2 separate regions of the Homo sapiens genome follow, and region 2 is linked to region 1. Evidence: promoter capture Hi-C in 16 types of primary human blood cells and fetal thymus (Javierre and others, 2016). All regions are on one chromosome and are shown on one strand. Each heading gives the region's core, a stretch centred on a gene start or on the middle of the fragment in contact. The rest is flanking DNA. Distances are from core to core; before and after follow the strand shown.

Region 1 (3,767 bases), core at 415-2,914:
CTTTGTTCTCATTGTGTCTGTCGTCTCCCTTTCTTTGTGTTGCAGGGAGATACTGCTACCCGCATCTGCCACTGAGCATGCGGGAAAAATCCTTCAATAGATTCTTTACTTAGGACTTTCAGTAGTATTACTCCATTTCTCCAGGTTTTGGTAATAACCAAAAAAAATCCTAAAGATATACCGAAACTTGGAAAGGTGATGGGTGATACAGGTGGTTAGGTGGTGGGCTAGCAAGCTGGGACACAGGGAAGGTTAAGGGAGTCATCACACGCATTTAGCTAATTTATGGAAGCGCTCACCAAGCATGTTAAATGCAGAACATCCACCCTGCACACAGAAGCTAGAGATGTAGATTAACAACTGAGAAGATACAAGTGTTTCTGAGCAGGAAGACACAAAACCATATCTGAAACCAATAGATACGATGTGTTAGCAGCTCCAGAGAAATGAGGTACATTGTCACAAAGATTGGTATGTAAAGTCCCTAGCAAGGACTTTCACTAGATAGTATATCATCTGAGGATGAGAACCAGTGGTGTAGATTTTTCTCATAATATAATCTCAGGTTTTCCTCTGATTGTGTTAAACACTCAAAATGCTAAGTCAGTCAGTATTCATTGAACACAACTCGATTAAATTCTTCTGCTTAAAAGCCTCTTTTAAAAAAAGCAGATTTGCTCGTTTTCCAAGTGGTAAGAAATAGCAGGTTTGCAGGTGAGATTAAAGTGTATTGGGTAGAATTCTGAGGTTTTCTGTTTTCTGCTTTCCCACCAGCAAGTCTGACTTTAATAACTTACACATTATTTAATAGAAGGAGCACTAAACAATTTTACTCATATTTCTCCCCATAACCATTTTTGCCTATTGTACTCATTGCCCGCATCACGAGCTCTTAGAATGGTTCCTGGCACAGAGTAGGTGCTCAAAGATCTTTTGTTTGGGGAATGCATGAATATACATAGTATGAAAAAAAAAGCAGTTCTTCTTTTATTGTGACAAACAATGATGGTAACAGTTCAAATTTGACTATTTTAGAATAAATAAGTAAACACTTGTCTCCTTAGCAGCTGGCCACTCTACCTCTTAGAGAGAGGGCTTTCTTCTCTTTCTTCTCGGTCTCCTGTCTCCCACCATTTTGCTTCTCTATTACCAATGAGAACATGAGTGGCATGGTCCCAAAGCCTTTCTGTTCCCCCTATCTCCACTTTTCGGTTTTTAGAATAACGATCCCCAGCCTTTAAGTTTTCTATAGGATTCGTTAGCCAGTGGCTATTAAGTGCTGTCACGGAGCCTAACAGAGAGCTGGGAAGGGAGCAAACCAGCGGGCCGGTGGTGCACTACTCGAGGGCCAGCACCTGCAGCTGCTTCTTTGGGAACCCCCTGGTCCCCGCAACCGCCTCAGAGACCCGCGCAGTTCACTGTCCCACCAAGCGGCAGGAGGAGGTGCTTGTGGCGGGAAAGTTCAGGCCAGGTCCAATCAGGCCCCTGGGATTAGGTAGCGAGGGTGGGTGCGGCTCCCCGGCCCCAACCCGGGCTGCCGGCCCCGCCCCCTGGGTGGGCTTCCCCACGGTTCTCCGCCCCCCCCCCCCCACCCGCCCCCTCGGCGCTCTTGCCCCGCCCCGCTCCGGGGCCGCGGCTAAAACCCGGAGCCGCCGCGACGCCCAGGGGACTGGAGGGACGCACTGAGCATGTGCAGATCAGCTCGGTGGTGGCTGCCGCGGCCGGAGGCGAGGGCCCGGTGCTGATGCGAACCGCCGGCTCGGCCTCAGCCCGCGCGTGGTCGGCCCCCCAGGCCGGGGCGACAGGGAAGGAGCCGTAGCCTCCCCGTGGCCCGAGGAGCCGGCGCGGCGGCGCGCACTCCCCGGCGGCCGCGGCGCCCTCGGGGCCCACGATGATGGCGGAGCAGGTGAAATGCGCCTCGGCAGGGGTCAGCTCTGGAGCGGGCTCCGGGCCGGTGGTGAACGCGGAGCTGGAGGTGAAGAAGCTGCAGGAGCTGGTGCGCAAGCTGGAGAAGCAGAACGAGCAGCTGCGGAGTCGAGCGGCCAGCGCGGCCGCCGCCCCGCACCTGCTGCTGCTGCCGCCGCCGCCGCCCGCCGCGCCGCCCCCCGCTGGCCTGCAGCCTTTGGGTCCTCGGAGCCCCCCGGCCGCCACGGCCACCGCCGCGGCCTCAGGGGGCCTGGGGCTCGGGCTGGCGCTGGGCGCGGGGGGCGGTGGCGGCAGCGGTAGTGGCAGCGGCGGTGGCTCCAGCCCCGCGTTCCCGGGCACCTTCTGCCTGCCTAGCCCCGCGCCCTCCCTGCTTTGCAGCCTGGCGCAGCCACCCGAGGCGCCCTTCGTCTACTTCAAGCCGGCAGCAGGCTTCTTCGGCGCGGGCGGTGGCGGGCCGGAGCCGGGGGGCGCGGGGACGCCGCCAGGGGCAGCTGCAGCGCCGCCCTCGCCGCCCCCCACGCTGCTGGACGAGGTGGAATTGCTGGATCTGGAGAGCGTAGCCGCCTGGCGGGACGAGGACGACTACACCTGGTACTGCCTGGCTCCGCTCCTTCCCCGAGACCCTGGCCTCGGGGGCTTCGGGCACCGGGGAGCGGGGGCGGGGGGCGGACGGGGGTCCCCTCGCGGCAGCCGGGGTGACTCCCCGCGGCTCCCGGAGGGGCCGACCCAGCAGGTGTTGAGCCAGGCGGTGACACTTCCCACGATGAGGCTTCTCATGAAGGCAGAAACCTGTTTTCTAATCGCTCCGACTGCGGATGAACCGGCCCCCCCTTCCCCCCATCTGCCATGGGTTCTGCTATTTGCTGATTGTTGGGTCCCAAGCTCCTCGTTAGCATTAAGTGCAAAATCCATGTCATCTTGTCTTTTTGCTCAGTGCTGCTCTTTTCCCCAGTGTTTTCGGAGGGATGACGGGGGATGGTAGGGGTTGGCCTCTGTCTGCGACTGTTACTGTTCTTTCGTTTTAAACGAACGCTGGACAGGATTTGCGTGCTCTTCCTCCTCGGGTGGCATCGGAAGCCGCGCAGTGATGGATCTCTCTTTATAGAGAGGTTCGTTCTTGCTGTTTGAATTTTGCAGTCGTGTGCCCTTTTGCGTTGCATTTTCATTGAAATCTTATTTTCAGAGACTGACTTGCTTTTTAAAATGGGGTGACCTCACTGGCTTTCCCATAAATAGTGCCAATAAAGAGGACTTTTCTTGGAGTGGAATGAACAGGTGGGAGGGACTTTTTTATTTATTTATTTATTTTTTTACCTAGGAACCAACGAACTGTCTTTAATTTTTTAAATTAAACTGTAGAAGAAAAGTGAGATTAGAGAAGCCTTATTTTCTTATTTCTTGGAAACTTTTTAGCTTGGTTATCAGAAAACTTGAGGCTGACAGCATTTATTCAGTTGACATCTGGTTAGCACTGTCTACTTTCCATGAATGAGTAACTTTAGGGGGAGGCTTGCTGTAGTCCTTCTTTACTTTAGGTCCTTTTTATGTAGGACCCTTTCTGTTTTTCCAAGCTGTGTTTTCATTACTTTCTTTGTGTCTCTGTTGCATGATTGCATGGAAGGGATTGGGAAATGGAGATCCTTACTGGTTTCCTATTGGGAACTGCAGTGTTCCTTTTCCCTTACACTCTGTCATGTGAGAGCTCTAACTGTAAAGTACATTAGTTAATTGGTTTCATTCAAGAATCAAAATATATGGAGTTACAGTAAGCCTTTCAGAGGTGTATTCATCATCCACCTTAATACTTTTTGGCAGCTGTGCAGGTAGCTCAAGGTGTAAAA
Region 2 (3,767 bases), core at 477-2,976, about 20 Mb after region 1:
AAAAATGAACAAAGCACTGTCCCTTTCCCCAGTCACTGGAGAAGACAGTGCAATCATGTGTTATTGGTGTTAAGACAGAAGTCTGTTCAGGGTTACACTTGGGGTCACAAAAAGTGAGTGGTAAATCCTACCTCCAGTAATATCAAGATGTGTTCATATACCTACCATAGCTTAATTTAAAAAATTCTTATATTTGTACAGAAAATAGCATTAGAAAAATTAGTACAACCATATTTGACCAGAAACCACATAATGCCTAACAAGTTCTGATTTTTATTACAAATATTTATTATTGTTGCTCTACTATTACATTTGGCACATCTATGGGTTTTTTTTTATTTCAAAAATGCTTTGCTAATCTGTAACTTATTATGACTTACAGCTTTTTTTGTTGAAAAGATTTTCCTACAGGAAGGTACAAAAAGGCATTCTAGTGAAAACATTTTAAATTACACTATTTACCAAAAAGCCTACCTTTATGTATTACTGCTCTATTGAAATTTTTCTTTTCAAACAAATTCCATTCATTTCTACATAATGCATGTCAATAACAGCTATCATGGAAAAATAACAAGCAAAAACTGTTTTTCTACCTGTCTTCATTTTTTGCCACTCCTCATGTTTCCTTCTATTTCTATTTGTGAAAGTTTGAATCCCTCCTTCTTGATGCCCTTAAATCCATAATTACTTCTTATGACAACTCTTTTGACGCCCACATTATAAATTATTCATTATTTTGAATGACGCCTTAATTTCAAATGCACTCTTGTACTCCTACTTTGTCTTCTGTATTTTTCTCCTATATTATTTTTATACCTTTAAATAATCTTGCTTTGAGACTTCTGGCATCTTTCTGTCTTTTTCTCTGAGAGATGCCCCTAGAATGCTGTTGCTACAGGGAATTTAAAAAATCAAGTGATTCTGGTATTTCCCTCATTCACTCTTACTTCATTCCTGCTTTCTTCCTTTGCTCTTCTGGTTCCTTACATCTAGAGTGCTCTCTTCTGCCCCATCTAGCCTGTCCTTTCGCCACTTCCTTCAAAACCTGATACAATATTAATTTGCTTCAGACAACTCTCCTGGACTAACCTACTCCAATTTACTGTTTCTCTCGACCTCTGGGAATGTCAGTAAAAACTATACATTTCATTCTCATTTACTTGGAAAGTGTTTGTTTTTGTAATTTCATTCAGTTATTTAGTTATATATTTTGTAATATTTTATTATTTATATAATTACTATATACCCTTTCTAATTCCTGATTTTTCCTTATTAGTTTTAAGCATAACCATTATTTTATAATATAAACATGTAATTGGTTGCTTAATATCTGTCTCTCCTGCTAGAATACAAGCTCTTTTGGCTAATTGCTTATTGTTTTATCCCCAGAGCCTAAAAAATATACACAGTAATTACTCAATTAATATTATAGTATCTTTGAACTATCGTTCAGATATTAGTGAAATGAAAGTGCTCACAAATGCTTGCTGATTTTTTAAAGCCCGATTTTGGCTGGAATCCCTCATACTTTTTGTTAACAGGTGGGATGTATTTTGCTGTAAGATGCAGAAAACCTTACCAACACACACTTAAATTGAAAGACACCAGCTGTTTACTTAGCCATAAGTCCAAATGTGGGCAGTTCTAATGTTGGTTTGACTGTCCAATGTTGTCATGCAGGACCTAGGTTCTTCCCATCCTCCTCCCTGGCCATCCGAAGTTGCTGGCTTTCTACAGTATTGCACCATAATGTCATAATGCATCATAGCCCCCAAATGGAGGCCACATTCTCATATTTCAATGTGTAAAGCAGGAAGCAAAGAGAGCGACATCAGAAAACGGGGATATTTCCTCACTCTTGTCAATATCCTAGAAATCCCTCCAGCCCTAGCAGCCTTCTCCCCATTCCAATGACAAGAACTGAGTCACGTGCCTACTTTTGGACTAACCGTGGGCAGAGGGAAAGCAATGCTATTAAAGTCCAATCCTGATTCATCCCAGCTTCTTTGGCAAAAATAAAGGGAAACTGCTGGGTACGCAAGCAACACTGTGCCTGCTCTTCTGCTTTGTTAAATGAACCACACTGAAGCTCTGTTTTCCGCAGAATCCTCTAGCTCTTAAGATTCTTCAGGCTTTTTCTTTTTTCTGCCTACATTTTAATCATTACGTCTTTTCTTTCAGATTTTTTTTCTGATTAAAATGGCCTTTTGAAACATCTACTCTCTCCACCCATACGTTTCTTTTATTGAGTTGTTTCCATACTCTTAATTTCTGCATTCTAATTCCTTTTCTTTTCAAAAGCACTGAGACATATCACATTTTTTAAAGGAAGAACAAAGTTTATTTTGCCCCTTCCTTTCCACTCCACATATATACTGCAGATTCTCAACTGTATTAGGAGCCTCACAGGTCAAGAAACCATCGTCTGCTCTCCTTATACTTGCCAGCAGCGTTTCACAGGTGCTAAATGTACTTGACATGCCCTTCCCCTTTATGTTTAATCAGAGGCATGCAGGCTTTAATAAGAAGCATTAGGAATCAGGGTTTTACAGTCGAAAAGTACCCCTCGCATTACAAACATCCTCTACTAATTTGTTTCTATTAAATTATCTGCATATTTGCTTCTTGCTGGTGTCAGGAAGTCCCAGAATACAGTACCTTTCCCACTTCATACCACCTTTTCCAACACCTTTTACAGAAAGAAAGGATGGACTTGGGTTTCCACGGTAACACAAGTGCGATAATTGAAGGTATCTGGCTATAGGTGAGATAACTCCCTTTCAGATTTAGTGGAGAGAGGAGAAATGAAGATTTTCTTTCTTTTTATTCTCCTGGCAATGCACTTTGGAAACTAAAGGGATCCTGCAGTGTCAGTTACTGCGTTAAGTTTTCACTATCTTACAGATTTACAGCTCTTGGGAATAATTCAAATTTCTTTTATATCATTTTTATTTTTTATTTCCCACAAACAAATGAAGATATAAGTTATTTCTATAATCATCTCAAAATAGAGTTTATGCTGGCATCGGAATGAACATGACTAAGGGGTTAGAAAATAGACATCCATCTCCCACCCAAGTCCTCTAAATTCTCTACACGTCCTGACATCCTTTTTATAGCAGCTAATCTTTCACCCAACATTTCACCTACAACCACAAATCAGGTAAGTACCATCATTTAAGCCAGAATAGGTGAGAAAATATGCTCCGACCTGTCATGTTTCTTTTGCCTCTTGGTGGTTAAAAATCAACCTTTATGGTACTGAGCATGAAATCTGAGGCCTGTCAATATAAGGCCTGTAAATAAATGAACTGTAACCACCCCAAGGGCTGCAGTCTCTATACCCCTTCTTATCAAAAACGTCAGCATTGATGAGAGGTCAGGGGAAATAGCCTGAGAAATGTCACAAAGCTGTCCTACTCTGTATTATGCTAAATGGAGTGACTACGGAGCCCACTCACTATTTTTGTGACAGCTTCAATCCAGAGCTTCTCAACATCTAGGGACCTAGGAGTCATGAAAACAGTTACTTAAGGCAACCTTCTGGACCCCACAATCCCAATACAAATTTCTCAAAAACATTAATCACTGGAACTTCATTCCTTGCAAAGTAAATGGACTTAGAGCTCCTTTGTAATGCAAGGTACTAGATGAGTTGTCATGATCTAGAGAGAAAGCTTCACGCTTCCTGGCTCTATTTAACAACCCTAAGAACTTCTTATCACCAAGATGCACAGTTAGAATCTTAAGACAGTCTGTCTTTCCTT

The links. Contacts are between HindIII fragments. The CHiCAGO score rates a contact against its expected background, and 5 or more counts as called.
Region 2: a contact is called between a fragment that was not itself captured here and the fragment with the promoter of SLAIN1 in region 1, in 5 of 17 cell types (total CD8 T cells, naive CD4 T cells, total CD4 T cells and 2 more). The highest score is 10.0, in total CD8 T cells.

Annotation. Positions count from the first base shown.
Region 1 is chr13:77,696,023-77,699,789 of GRCh38, forward strand. SLAIN1 (SLAIN motif family member 1) reads left to right here and starts at 1,665. Exons shown (of 7, transcript NM_001242868.2): 1 at 1,665-2,517. The coding sequence starts at 1,892. It overlaps MIR3665 (microRNA 3665), which reads right to left and starts at 2,094; the gene lies at 1,990-2,094. RefSeq lists silencers at 1,423-1,982, 2,183-2,422, 2,583-2,732. The HindIII fragment of the contact is 5,751 bases long and covers 1-3,767 here.
Region 2 is chr13:97,428,000-97,431,766 of GRCh38, forward strand. No RefSeq gene overlaps it. Among named protein-coding and RNA genes, the nearest start is that of RAP2A, 4.3 kb to the right of the region's middle. The HindIII fragment of the contact is 3,897 bases long and covers 1-3,675 here.